2 separate regions of the Homo sapiens genome follow, and region 2 is linked to region 1. The links are contacts of gene promoters, found by promoter capture Hi-C in blood cells and fetal thymus (Javierre and others, 2016). All regions are on one chromosome and are shown on one strand. Each heading gives the region's core, a stretch centred on a gene start or on the middle of the fragment in contact. The rest is flanking DNA. Distances are from core to core; before and after follow the strand shown.

The links. Contacts are between HindIII fragments. The CHiCAGO score rates a contact against its expected background, and 5 or more counts as called.
Region 2: a contact is called between a fragment that was not itself captured here and the fragment with the promoter of FSD1L in region 1, in 1 of 17 cell types (M0 macrophages). The highest score is 7.0, in M0 macrophages.

Annotation. Positions count from the first base shown.
Region 1 is chr9:105,445,157-105,451,116 of GRCh38, forward strand. FSD1L (fibronectin type III and SPRY domain containing 1 like) reads left to right here and starts at 2,878. Exons shown (of 14, transcript NM_001145313.3): 1 at 2,878-3,079. The coding sequence starts at 3,065. RefSeq lists a silencer at 2,759-3,368. The HindIII fragment of the contact is 4,464 bases long and covers 1,804-5,960 here.
Region 2 is chr9:105,158,201-105,164,160 of GRCh38, forward strand. No RefSeq gene overlaps it. Among named protein-coding and RNA genes, the nearest start is that of SLC44A1, 83 kb to the right of the region's middle. The HindIII fragment of the contact is 5,486 bases long and covers 753-5,960 here.

The sequences.
Region 1 (5,960 bases), core at 1,628-4,127:
TGTGATGGGAGAACTTGTACAAACTGGGGAAGACAGAAGTCACAGTCAGAAGGAACTAGCTGTTTCCCAGATGGGAACGAGGGGAAGCAAAAGGCCCAGGATGAGCTGGGCAGGAGAGCCAGACTGGCCAGAGACAGAGATCAGGTGAGGGCAGAAGCCAAATGGGGTAGAGATGTTGTCAAAAGCTGCAGTCTGCTGGCTGGGCTACAGGGAAAGAACTTGGGAAGCTGGAGGCAAGGAGCCAGGAGTGAGCTCCTGGGGTGTGGACTGTGACAGAGTCTGGTGATCACATTTCAGCTGCAACTCACTGTCCCCAAAAGCCTCTTTCTTCTTTCTCTGGTGGTGCCTGTCAGTCATAAAGTGCCTAGGAATTGCCCTCAGACAGTAATGAGGTTAAGTCCTTGCAGCAAGAGAAGTGGGGACATCGCCAAGCCCTGTCTCCTCTGCTTAGTCGTGGGTCCCATAGTGGCAAGCAGGGGCAGAGCCAGGAAGCACGCAGTCTGGTGAGTAGACTTTAGATGTTCTCCAATCGCCAGGCTATTTCTCCCTCATGGGAAACTGACTCAACTGCAGTACACAGTGTGAAGGAACGACCTTTGTGGCTGCAGCAGTGGGCTAATGGCTTGGCGCCTGGCTGCACTTGTTATTCCTCACGGAGTTGGGAAAGGTTGAATAAGAGGCTCTCTTCCCTTGGTACTAAGAGATGGGCATCTCTTTGAAGGACTGCATGCCACTACTCCTTTCAGCTGGCACACATAGGCCCACCCTGGACCCTGGCTCTCTAAGCACTACCCACCCAGCCTTAGCCAAGCTCTTCTTTTCCCTTTTGTAACTTTCATTTCATTTCTTGTACATCTCTGTCCAGTTAAAAAAGGATGTATTAAGTGCATACTATGTGGCAGACTCTGAGCTGGGGATACAGATATGGGGTAAAAGAAATTCAGCCCTCAAAAAAAAAATCACAGTACAGTCAGGGGGATCCATGTGGAGATGTAATGACAACATTGTAGAATAAATGCTGTTTCTCAAACACAGAGCTCCTTCTCTCCACAAGGCCTTTGTATTTGTTGTTCCTACTTTCTAGAATGTTCTTCCCTAGATCCTTGTACAATTCCTCTTCTCACTTTATACTCAGGTCATTTCCAAGAGAGATCTTCCCTGACATTTCTATGAAAAATTAAACCCTCCCAATTCTCTGAATCCATTTGCCTTATTTATTTATTTAGGAGCTGGGGTCTCACCCTGTTGCCCAGGCTGGAGTGCAGTGGTGTGATCTAGGCTCACTGCAACCTCTGCCTCCAGGACTCAAGTGATCCTCCCGCTTCAGCCTCCTGATTGGCTCTGGCTACAGGCTTGCAGCACCACGTCTGGCTAATTTTTTTTTTTTTAATTTCTGTAGAGATGGGGTTTTGCCATGTTGCCCAGGCTGGTCTCGAACTCCTGGACTCAAGTGATCCACTCATTGGGCCTCCCAAAGTGTTGGGATTACAGGTGTGAGCCACCATGCCTGGCCTAAGTTTTAATTTTAGCACCTATAACCGTCTAGCACGTTAACTTTTTTTTTTTTTTTGGTTGGTCTTCTATACTAGATTGTAAGCTCTGTGAGAGAAACAGGGCCTTGCCCACTACTGAATTTTGTTTGTAGAACTGGTACAGAATAGGTACTCAATATGTATTTCCCTTTTATTCATTCATCATAAATGACTGTCTAATTGAACTTTTGTGAGCCTCTCCAGAGTCATCCAAATGGAAGATGAGGCCTGTCTGCTTGAGGAAGAACTTTCTCAAGCCTACTAAATTCCAAGCTTTCTAAAATCTTCATTGATGCCTCAGGCCACACCGAGCAGGTTCTAACTCCCCACTAAGAATGACTATAATGGGCCTGGCACATGCCCTGTAACCCACACCTGTAATCCTAGCAATTTGGGAGGCTGAGGTGGGCGGACTGCCTGAGCTTAGGAGTTCGAGACCATCCTAAGCAACATGGCTAGAACCAGTCTCCGCTAAAAGTACAAAAAATTAGCCAGGTGTGGTGGGGGCGCCTGTAATCCCAGCTACTCATGAGGCTGAGGCACGAGAATTCCTGGAACCCGGGAGGCAGAGGTTGCAGTGAGCCAAGATGGCACCACTGCACTCCAGCCTCGGTGACAGACCGAGACTCCATCTCCAAAAAAAAAAAAAAAAAAAAAAAAAGAGAATGACTATAATTTATTCACTACTAATTATGTACCATACGTTATTTAATCCTCACAATCCTCTGCAAAGTCCGCATTATTTCTCTCATTTTACAGATGAAACAAGCTCAGGCAGACTGACTTGCTCAAAATCATACAGGTAGCGAGGTGCCGGGGAGGATGGGTGGGTCCCCGGGAAAAACTGTGCCAGGCCCCAAAGCTCATATTAATCCCACACCCACGTTTCCGCCACTCTCATCCCTATATCCCTCCTCCCACGTTTCCACCACATCCCCTAAAGGTCTTTTCCCACGTTTTCGCTACATCCCCACCCCAGCCCTTTTCCTCCCTTTGGACCGCTGGGTCCGCTCAAGCCTGGCTGCCCCTCGAAGGATAGTGTGGGGAGGGGCTTCAGATGCGTGCTGGGTGGAGGGTGGGCTAATCCGTCTCCAGCACCAGATACTCTTTCCTTCCCGGGCCCTCCGCACCGGCCGGCTGCTGGATGCCCAGTGGCCTATTTCAGGGCCGGAGAGACCGCTATCGCTGGAGGAAAAAGGATGGGGGAAGGGAGTGCAGCCTGCAGAGGCACTAGCGGTAGACAGACGGGCGGCGCTCCCCACCCTCCACGGCTACTTCCCGGGAGCAGTCAGCCGCTGCGCGCAGGCGCGGTGCGCTCCTCAGCCCCTCCCTTCTGCGGGCCGCCCTTTCACCCTGGCAACCGCGGCGTGACTACGGCGCGCGCGGTCTGGGCGCGGACGGGTGGGGCCGGGCGGTGCCGGTGCGGGCTGGGGCAGTGCAGTGAGTAGCGGTCTTGGGGTGTGCGATCTCGCTGAGCCTCCTCACACGGTTCGTCGTCTCGGGTTCGAGCCCAGTGGGCTTAGCCACTCGCCATGGACTCCCAGAAAGTAAGCGGGGGAGGGGAGCCCGGGGCTACCGAGACAAGCCGGGCCGGCACAGGGTGGGCGGGGCGCCTGGGCCCGTGGGCTGTGGGTGCGCGGGGTGGGCCTGGCCGGGCGTCCGGGCTGCTGCTGCGGAGGGCAAGGCCGCCCGGCCGCTCTCTGGGCGGGAGCTAAGAGGCGCCCACACGGATGCGGGGACCGCGCCCGGTGACTCGGGCTGGCCTCTGCTCTGCGCGCTGTCCGGGGCCCTGACTCTGGAGGAGAAACGGAGCCATCCCCCTTTTAAAATCAGCCACTCTGCAGCGCTTTAGGCCGGTTTTCATGCCTGCAGACTGCGAGCGTGCTGGTGGGGGTGTATCCCTCCTCAGCAGGTGAGGAAACCGAGGCACAGCCTTTTTGGTGTCTCCCTGCTGACGCCGAAAGCTGGGGCTTTCTCCTCGACCAAGTCTCGTCTCAGCACCACGCTCTTTAGGTCAGGGACCGAATCTCCTTTGTACCGCCCACCGCTCCCCTTCCCATGACTTTTCCTAAGTAGATCTTAGTGTTTAGTGTTCGTTGAATGGAGGGAAAAGACTTCAATTGTTAGGGCAGCCTTCCCACTCTCTGACCAGTTGGTGTTGCTGGGCACAGTTACTTAGGGGTCGTTGTGGAATGTTTTATACTTTCCGAACAGTTGAGGAAAGGTTATATAATCGTAAAGGTTCAATTCAGAAGTATTTGGAGAACAAAGCCAATGTCTTGAATACAGTTAGAAGTGAATTATTCAGTCATAATCTCCATATGAAAATAACCACCCTGTTCTCTTTGTTAGACTATAACGTAATTGAAATATAGTACAGGGTAGGAAAGAAAAAACAAGGAGTATTAATAATGTAGCAGGGAAAACAAAGACATATCTAAGAGACTATTCTTTTCTATTATTAGAAAGCACGGGAAAGACTTAGAACAACGTTTTCTACAATTTTGTCTACATTCACCTTCTTGAGGATCACTTCACTGAGGGCATGAGAGAATAATGATGTGTTGAGCATTGACTATTACAGTATTTAACAAATATGCATATGATTTCATTGTATGTGTTGGTCTTGAAACTCACCTTGGAATGCATGACTATTCTTAAGGCATTTTTTAAAAATTAGATTTTGTGTATTTTGAGTATGTATAGGTTTAAAATATTGTCTCTGCCTAAATTTGTAAAACATCTCTCAGCTTATTAGATAAAAGAAATGATATTTGAATGGACATTAGCAGAGGTCAAGTGAAGGAGCAAAGTCCGGAGACATGGGTTCCAGGATGCTATTTACTAGCTCTGTGATAAGGAGCAAGTCACTTAACTGTGATTAATCTGTTTCCTCATCTATGCAGTAGAAGTAAGAGTATTTTATAGTGTCATAGTAAAAATCTGATAAAATAGTTTGTTCTGAAAACACAGCATTTTAAAGTTTACAAAGTATGACCACTAAAATACTGTGTCCCATAAAATACAAAAAAATGTGTTTTAATATTGATCATCATACTTTATCAGGGATGCATTATTCCTTACTTTAATGAGTTGTGACTCCTGGAAGGTCATGCTACTAGCCCTAAGGCTAAGATTTGAACCTATTTGTTCTCATTTCGAATGATGTGTTAGGGTACCTACAGGTTACCACGTGCAGTTTCCTGAGAGGTAGCAAAGAATTAGCTTCTCTTTCTTAGTAGTAGTAGTAATGTATCTTATTTGTGATATCTTTGAGAATCAACTTCTCAATATTAGAAAATATGTTGAATTTCATTGGTGGTACCAAATCTTTCTAATGAAAAAACAAACACCCTTTGGTTTATAGCTGTAAAAAGAATGTCCGGGATTAATGTGTATAACCAGTTCAGTGCTCTGAACCTGAGCTTCCTTTTCTCGTATGAATTCCTGCAGAATCACAAGCCTCAAATAGTAATGATCTAAGCTGGATATTGTTCTCTTTAAATAAGACAGTAGTACACCCCAGACATGATTTTTAGATACTATTTTCTGTTATGGAATGTACATTGAAAATAGTAGTAGGGGTAGTACCTCAGTCAGTAGAGTATAAGAAAAATAGGTACTGCAAAGTGTGAGGAAGGCCTGAATATATACCTGAATGTTTGTTAGGCATTGGGATTTGGGCTTTACATTAGTAAGAGGATGGCTCTGGAGCCAAGTCTCCAGTTCTACTATTTATAAGCTGTATGAGCTGGGATAGTTTGCTCTGTCTCCATTTCTTCATCTGTAAAACAGAGATAACAATAATTGTAATTCTCTCACAAGATTATTGTGAGGATTGTGTTCTTTTTTTTTTTTTTTTGAGACGGAGTTTTGCTCTTGTCGCCCAGGCTGGAGTGCAACGGTGCAATCTTGGCTTACTGCAACCTCCGCCTCCTGGGTTGAAGAGATTCTCCTGCCTCAGCCTCCTGAGTAGCTGGGATTACAGGCGCCTGCCACCACCCCTGGCTAATTTTTGTATTTTTAGTAGAGACGGGGTTTTACCATGATGGCCAGCTGGTCTCAAACTCCTGACCTCACTCAGGTGATCCGCCAGCCTTGGCCTCACAAAGCGCTGCGATTACAGGCTTGAGCCACTGTGCCCGGTCTTGCATTCATTTTTAAAACCCACTAAACAGTGCCTAGCATACAAAAATACTGTTAGCTACTGTTATTAATTTAATAATCCTAACTTCAAAGTAACTTTCTCCTTTTAAAATTAAGTGTAGACATTTTTCCTTTTTTTTGAGACGAAGTCTCGCTCTGTGGCCCAGGCTGGAGTAGTGCAGTGGCGCGATCTTGGCTCACTGCAAGCTCCACCTCCCAGGTTCACGCCATTCTCCTGCCTCAGCCTCCCGAGTAGCTGGGACTACAGGCTCCCGCCACCAC
Region 2 (5,960 bases), core at 2,246-4,745, 290 kb before region 1:
GCATTGCGATGGTGGGTAGGCGGGTAGGGGCGGGGCTAGGGCCGGAAGTAGAACTGTGGCCTCCATGGCCACTTGGGACCCCAGAGGTTCTATGCAAGAAACATAGACTCACCGTGATTCTTTTTTTTCTTTTCTTTTCTTTTGTTTTCTTTTCTTTTCTTTTCTTTCTTGTTTTGTTTTTTTGAGGCGGAGTTTCACTCTTGGTTGCCCAAGCTAGAGTGCAATGGCATGATCTCGGCTCACTGCAACTTCCACCTCCCAGGTTCAGGTGATTCTCCTGCCTCAGCCTTCCGAGTAGCTGGGATTACAAGCATCTGCCACCATGCCCAGCGAATTTTTGTACGTTTAGTAGAGATGGGGTTTCGCCATGTTGACCAGGCTGGTCTTGAACTCCTGATCTCAGGTGATCTGCCCGCTTCTGCCTCCCAAAGTGCTGTGATTACAGGCGTGAGCCTGCCTCCCAAAGTGCTGTGATTACAGGCATGAGCCATTGTGCCCCGCCCACTATGATTCTTTAGAGGCTCTTTGGGGTCTCCTCTGTGCTTCTGTCAGCAGTTTCAGTCCATTTTCCCAAGAACATTGGTGATAACAGCAGTGACATTTAATAAGGAAATTGATCCTGTGTAGAAACTTCATGGACAAGATTAGAGAATACAAATCTAAGTGACTGGCATCTGTAGGACCTTTTGATATTGGCCCACCTTTTCATATTGGCCCAATGTGTCAGCAAGAGCTGGAGAGGAAGCTTTTAAAGCTTGAGCAGATGGCTCATGGCATCAGAATAAATCTTCCGTGAAAGCAATGTCTGAGACGGGGCTAAACTAATAGTCTAAGTCAGGGATCAGTGAACTATCAGCCTGCTTTGTAAATAAAGTTTTATTGGAGCACAGCCGTGCTCATTTATTTAAATATTGTCCTATGGATGTCTTCACACTATAACGACAGACATAAGTAGTTGCAACAGAGACCGTGTGGTCTGAGAAGCCTAAAATATTTACTCTCTGGCCCTTTATAGAAAAAGTTTGCCAATTCATGGTCTGTATGAATTACCCAGGGAGAACATGGCTTTCAGTCTTCCAAAAACATCCATTCCTCCAGCTGGCTTCTAATAAGAATTACAGATGATATAGTGATGAAGTCCTAAGAATTCACTTTTTGGTTTAGAAGCTGATAAACTGGTACTCTTAAAAAAAAAAAAAAAAAAGAGAAAGAAAGAAAACAAAAGGAAGTCCAAACTTATAATGTTTGCCAGTTTCCATGGTGTAAATCAGGAGTTCTTAACCTCCACACCATTGGTGTTTGGAGCCAGATAATTCTTTTTTAGACGGAGTCTCTTTCTGTTGCCAGGCTGGAGTACAGTGGTGTGATACCGGCTCACTGCAGCCTCTGACTCCCCGGTTCAAGTGATTCTCTTGCCTCAGTCTCCCGAGTAGCTAGGATTACAGGGATACGCCACCACGTCCAGCTAATTTTTGTATTTTTAGTAGAGCCAGGGTTTCACCATGTTGGCCAAGATGGTCTCCATCTCCTGACCTTGTGATCCGCCCACCTCGGCCTCCCAAAGTGCTGGGATTACAGGTGTGAGCCACAGCACCTGGCCTGGAGCCAGATAATTCTTACGAAGCACTGGCCTTTAAAGAATATTGAGTAGCATCCCTGGCTTCTACCCACTAGATGTCAGTAGCAACCCCCCAGTTATGACAACAAAATATTAATATGTCTCTAGAGATTGTCAAATGTGCCCTAGGGGGCAAAATCTTTCTCATTGAGAATCACTGGTGTAAATACTCCTGCTATAACCAATTTCAAGCTAGTAACTTGACATCAGTGAACATGGATGTGGAGAAAGGTGCACACAGTCTAACAAACCAGTAAGAACCATCTCCAGTGCTGTGTGAGAACATACTTGCACAGGTAGTGATGTTGTTGCCCTATTTTTAAAATTGAGGTGCCTAACCAGGATCCACATAGAAATTAATCTGCTGGCAAGGTTAATTTTTTTCTTCAGGAAGTGGGCTGAATCTCTCTGCACAAAGTTATATACCATAAAGCATGGTTGAGATTACTATGAACTAAAAAATATCCAAAGCAAATATCAACATTTACCCCAATGGTATTTAAAACTCTCAATAATATATCAACAAATCCTATGGCTTTCCAGTGGATTTGACAGGATGAATGAGTCTCAAGGAAATTGAATGACTGTACTTGTTAGATGGATTTGGGTTCTGTTTTGTTGTGATTGTTGTTTTGTGGGGGATTTTGTTATTTAAGTCAAATGAATTTGGGGAAATATCTGCCAATAATTATGATATTATCTTTGGAAGACTTTGCATTAAAAGTACTGACAATGGTTAATTACTCAGAACCAATTACTAGGGACATTCTTGGGCCATGACATTAAAACCATTTCATCAGCACCCAGGAGGACATTTACCCTCCTGTTCCAGGACAGCAGCCATCTATTTTTATCTACAGTTTCAGTTGATTAAGCTATAACACTATTTCTATCAATCCTGAATTCTTGAGGGGCATTAAAATGCAAGTTTTGTAGGAGCATCAATAATGCAGTGTCTCTACTGAACTCGTGCTACTTAGAGTGACAGGCCAATAGCAGGTCAATAAAGGCTACAGTCATATTTTTCTTGCCAGATTTCTGCACAAGATCATTCCACACAATGACCAATGTTGTTACCACTTCTGGGTTTCCTTTCCCCTTACTAGTTGTGGCCTCCCTGGACACCACACACATACACACACACACACACACACACACACACACACAGAGTCATCCACAAATTTGAGCTTCACCTCCAGGGTCTCACCTGATTATTTTACCTTCATATAGGATGTTGGCATCTTGTGACATGTTAACACCCACTCATAAGAATTGCAAAAGTTCCCAGATGATCTAGATGCTCCCAAAATCTTGGCACCAAGGTATTACTTAAATATGCAGGACTTCTACAGTGAGCGGCAATAAACAAGTACCAAAATCTATATATCAAATTTGGGACAAATAAAGAATTCCAGCTTGAATTACTCAGACAGTACAACTACCAGAAATAGAGAAATTCTAATTATCATAAGGTGACCTTATGCAGTGATTTTACACACACACACACACACACACACACACACAATGATATAAAAGTTATAAATGCACTATAGCTTAGCATATGATTGTAAACCTCTGACCTTTAAATTGAGTAAAATTTACCCCCAATCCTTTGAAAATCTTCGCATACTTCATCTTCAACAAATAATACAGTAAATGTGCATAAAGACCATTTGCTCTACATGTAAAATTCTGACCTAGAAACCCAGACAAACAGTTTTTTAAGAATGAGCATAACGCAAAGACAAGAACAGTACAGCAAACCACCATAAATTAAAATGGAATTTTGAGAACTAGAAGGTTTCCTTTTATAAAATTGAGTGGCCTCTGTTTTGAGTGTATTCAAATTGAATAGTACTAGTAGAGTTAACAATGAAAAAGTTTGATAAGAATCAGATCACTACCAACAAGAGACTTTGAAAAAAATACAGTAAAATGTTCGGGCGCGGTGGCTCACGCCTGTAATCCCAGCACTTTGGGAGGCAGAGGTGGGCAAATCACGAGGTCAGGAGATCGAGACCATGCCGGCTAATACGATGAAACCCCATCTCTACTAAAAATACAAAAAATTGGGCGTGGTGGTGGGCGCCTGTAGTCCCAGCTACTTGGGAGGCTGAGGCAGGAGAATGGCGTGAACCCGGGAGGTGGAGCTTGCAGTGAGCTGAGATCGCACCACTGCACTCCAGCCTGGGTGAGAGAGCGAGACTCCGTCTCAAAAAAAAAAAAAGAAAGAAAGAAAGAAAGAAAGAAAAGAAAAAATACAGTAAAATAAGAAAGACTTTTTTGTTGTTTTTTTTGTTAAGACAGAGGCTGGAGTGCAGTGGCACCATCTCAGCTCACTGAAATCTCTGCCTCCCCGGTTCAAGTGATTCTCCTGCTTCAGCCTCCCAAGTAGCTGGGATTACAGGCATGAGCCACCATGACCAACTAATTTTTGTATTTTTAGTAGAGACGAGGTTTCACCCTATTGATCAGGCTAGTCTCGAACTACTGACCTCAGGTGATCCACCCACCTCGGCCTCCCAAAGTGCTGGGATTACAGGCGTGAGCCACTGTGCCCAGCCAACACCTATTCAGATTTAAACGTGATGACTCCTGGAGTCACTCCCACTCCTTTCCCTTCAGCTATGTAGCATTCTTTGTTTGCATAAGGCAGAGACTAGAGACTGTTAGGCTCAACAACCTCACCAGTACAACAGTTCAAGTGTACTGCTAACGCAGATCAAATTTGAGTCCCAGTTAAACGTTCCAGGGAATCCAGCACTGAAGAGGAGGGTTTTATTCAGGAGTCTTTGGGTTCCAAGTGAAAAAAATCCAACTCAAACTAGCATGGGCAAAAACATGGTAGCCAAATTCAGAAAGAATGATAGCCAGCTGGGCCTCAAGGTAAGACTGGATTTAGGGACTCAAATACTCTTAGCCCTCCCTTTCTGTTTTCCATCTCTACTGCTCTGCTTTGTCAGCATCTCTTTCTCAAGCCACCTTTTTCCAGCAGGAGAATGGAAGGAAAAAATGACCCCAAGGAACTCTAGGCTTATAACCAGAAAGGAACCAAGGGCCCTTTCTCACCAGCTCTACTTAGGAATATTCTAGGGAAGCCACTGAAGTAGTAGCACAACCAGGCTTGTGCTTTTAAAAGATGCCCCTGACTGCTGCGTGGAGAATATACTGGGCAGAGGCACAAATGCAAGCCCCGCTTGACCCTGCTGTTCCTCGGTGAAATCCTCTCTTCTCCTGCCTTCTGCGACACAGCAACATTCCTGGTCTCTGGTAGAGGCTAAGAAGCCCTTTAGGTTCATTTCTGTTGTCACCACAGAACATCTCCTGGGTACTTCATTATTCCCCAGTTGCACTGGGGAAATAATTCAGAGTACTATGCTGATTCTGAAGCTGGAACTCAAGTGGAAAATTTACTCAGACTGATCCTCAATATCGCTTCTTTCGATAGGTAAATCCAAACCATATTGTTCCAACTACTTTTTCTCCTGAGGCTGCTGTTACTACTTAGTTCAAACATATCCATAGCTCCTCAAGTTTAGATTTAAATACAGACTTCTCAGGCTCTCCACAACACTTCCCTGATTTCGTTTTTCTAAGCAGTTTTTTTTTTCTTTTCGGAGATGGAGTCTTGCTTTGTCACCCAGGCTGGAGTGCAGTGGTGTGATCTTGGCTCACTGCAACCTCTGCCTCCTGGGTTCAAGCGATTCTCCTGTCTCAGCCTCTTGAGTAGCTGGGACTACAGGTGCCCGCCACCACACCTGGCTATTTTTTTTGTATTTTTAGCTGAGATGGGGTTTCACCATATTGACCAGGCTGGTCTCGAACTCCTGACCTTGTGATCCCACCTCAGCCTTCCAAAGTGCAGGGATTACAGGCATGAGCCACCGCACCTGGCCTTTTCATTTTTATTACCTAGATATGTGTGAACACCTTCTCATAGAAGACAAATTCAGAAGTATACAGAGAAAAAGGTGGCAGCTCGCCTTTAGCCTTCCCCATCCCCTCTCCAGAGGTGACCACTCTCAACTGTTTGGCAGGTATCTTTCCAGTCTATTTTCAATACATTTATCATATATATGTATGAAAATACAGATGTCTGTTTTTATAAATATGACAAAGATAAGGCAATATGTACTGTTCGGTCAGTTGCCAACTACTATAACATATATAGTATTATTACTTAACAATATACCTTTCCATTTCAGTATGTATAGGTCTATCTCATTCTTTGTAAGGACAAACTAGTATTCATCAGGTAGATGCATTGAAGTACAGATCTACAATCCCTTATATGCAATTTTAGATCCAAAACATTCTGAAAACTGAATGTTTTTGGTACATT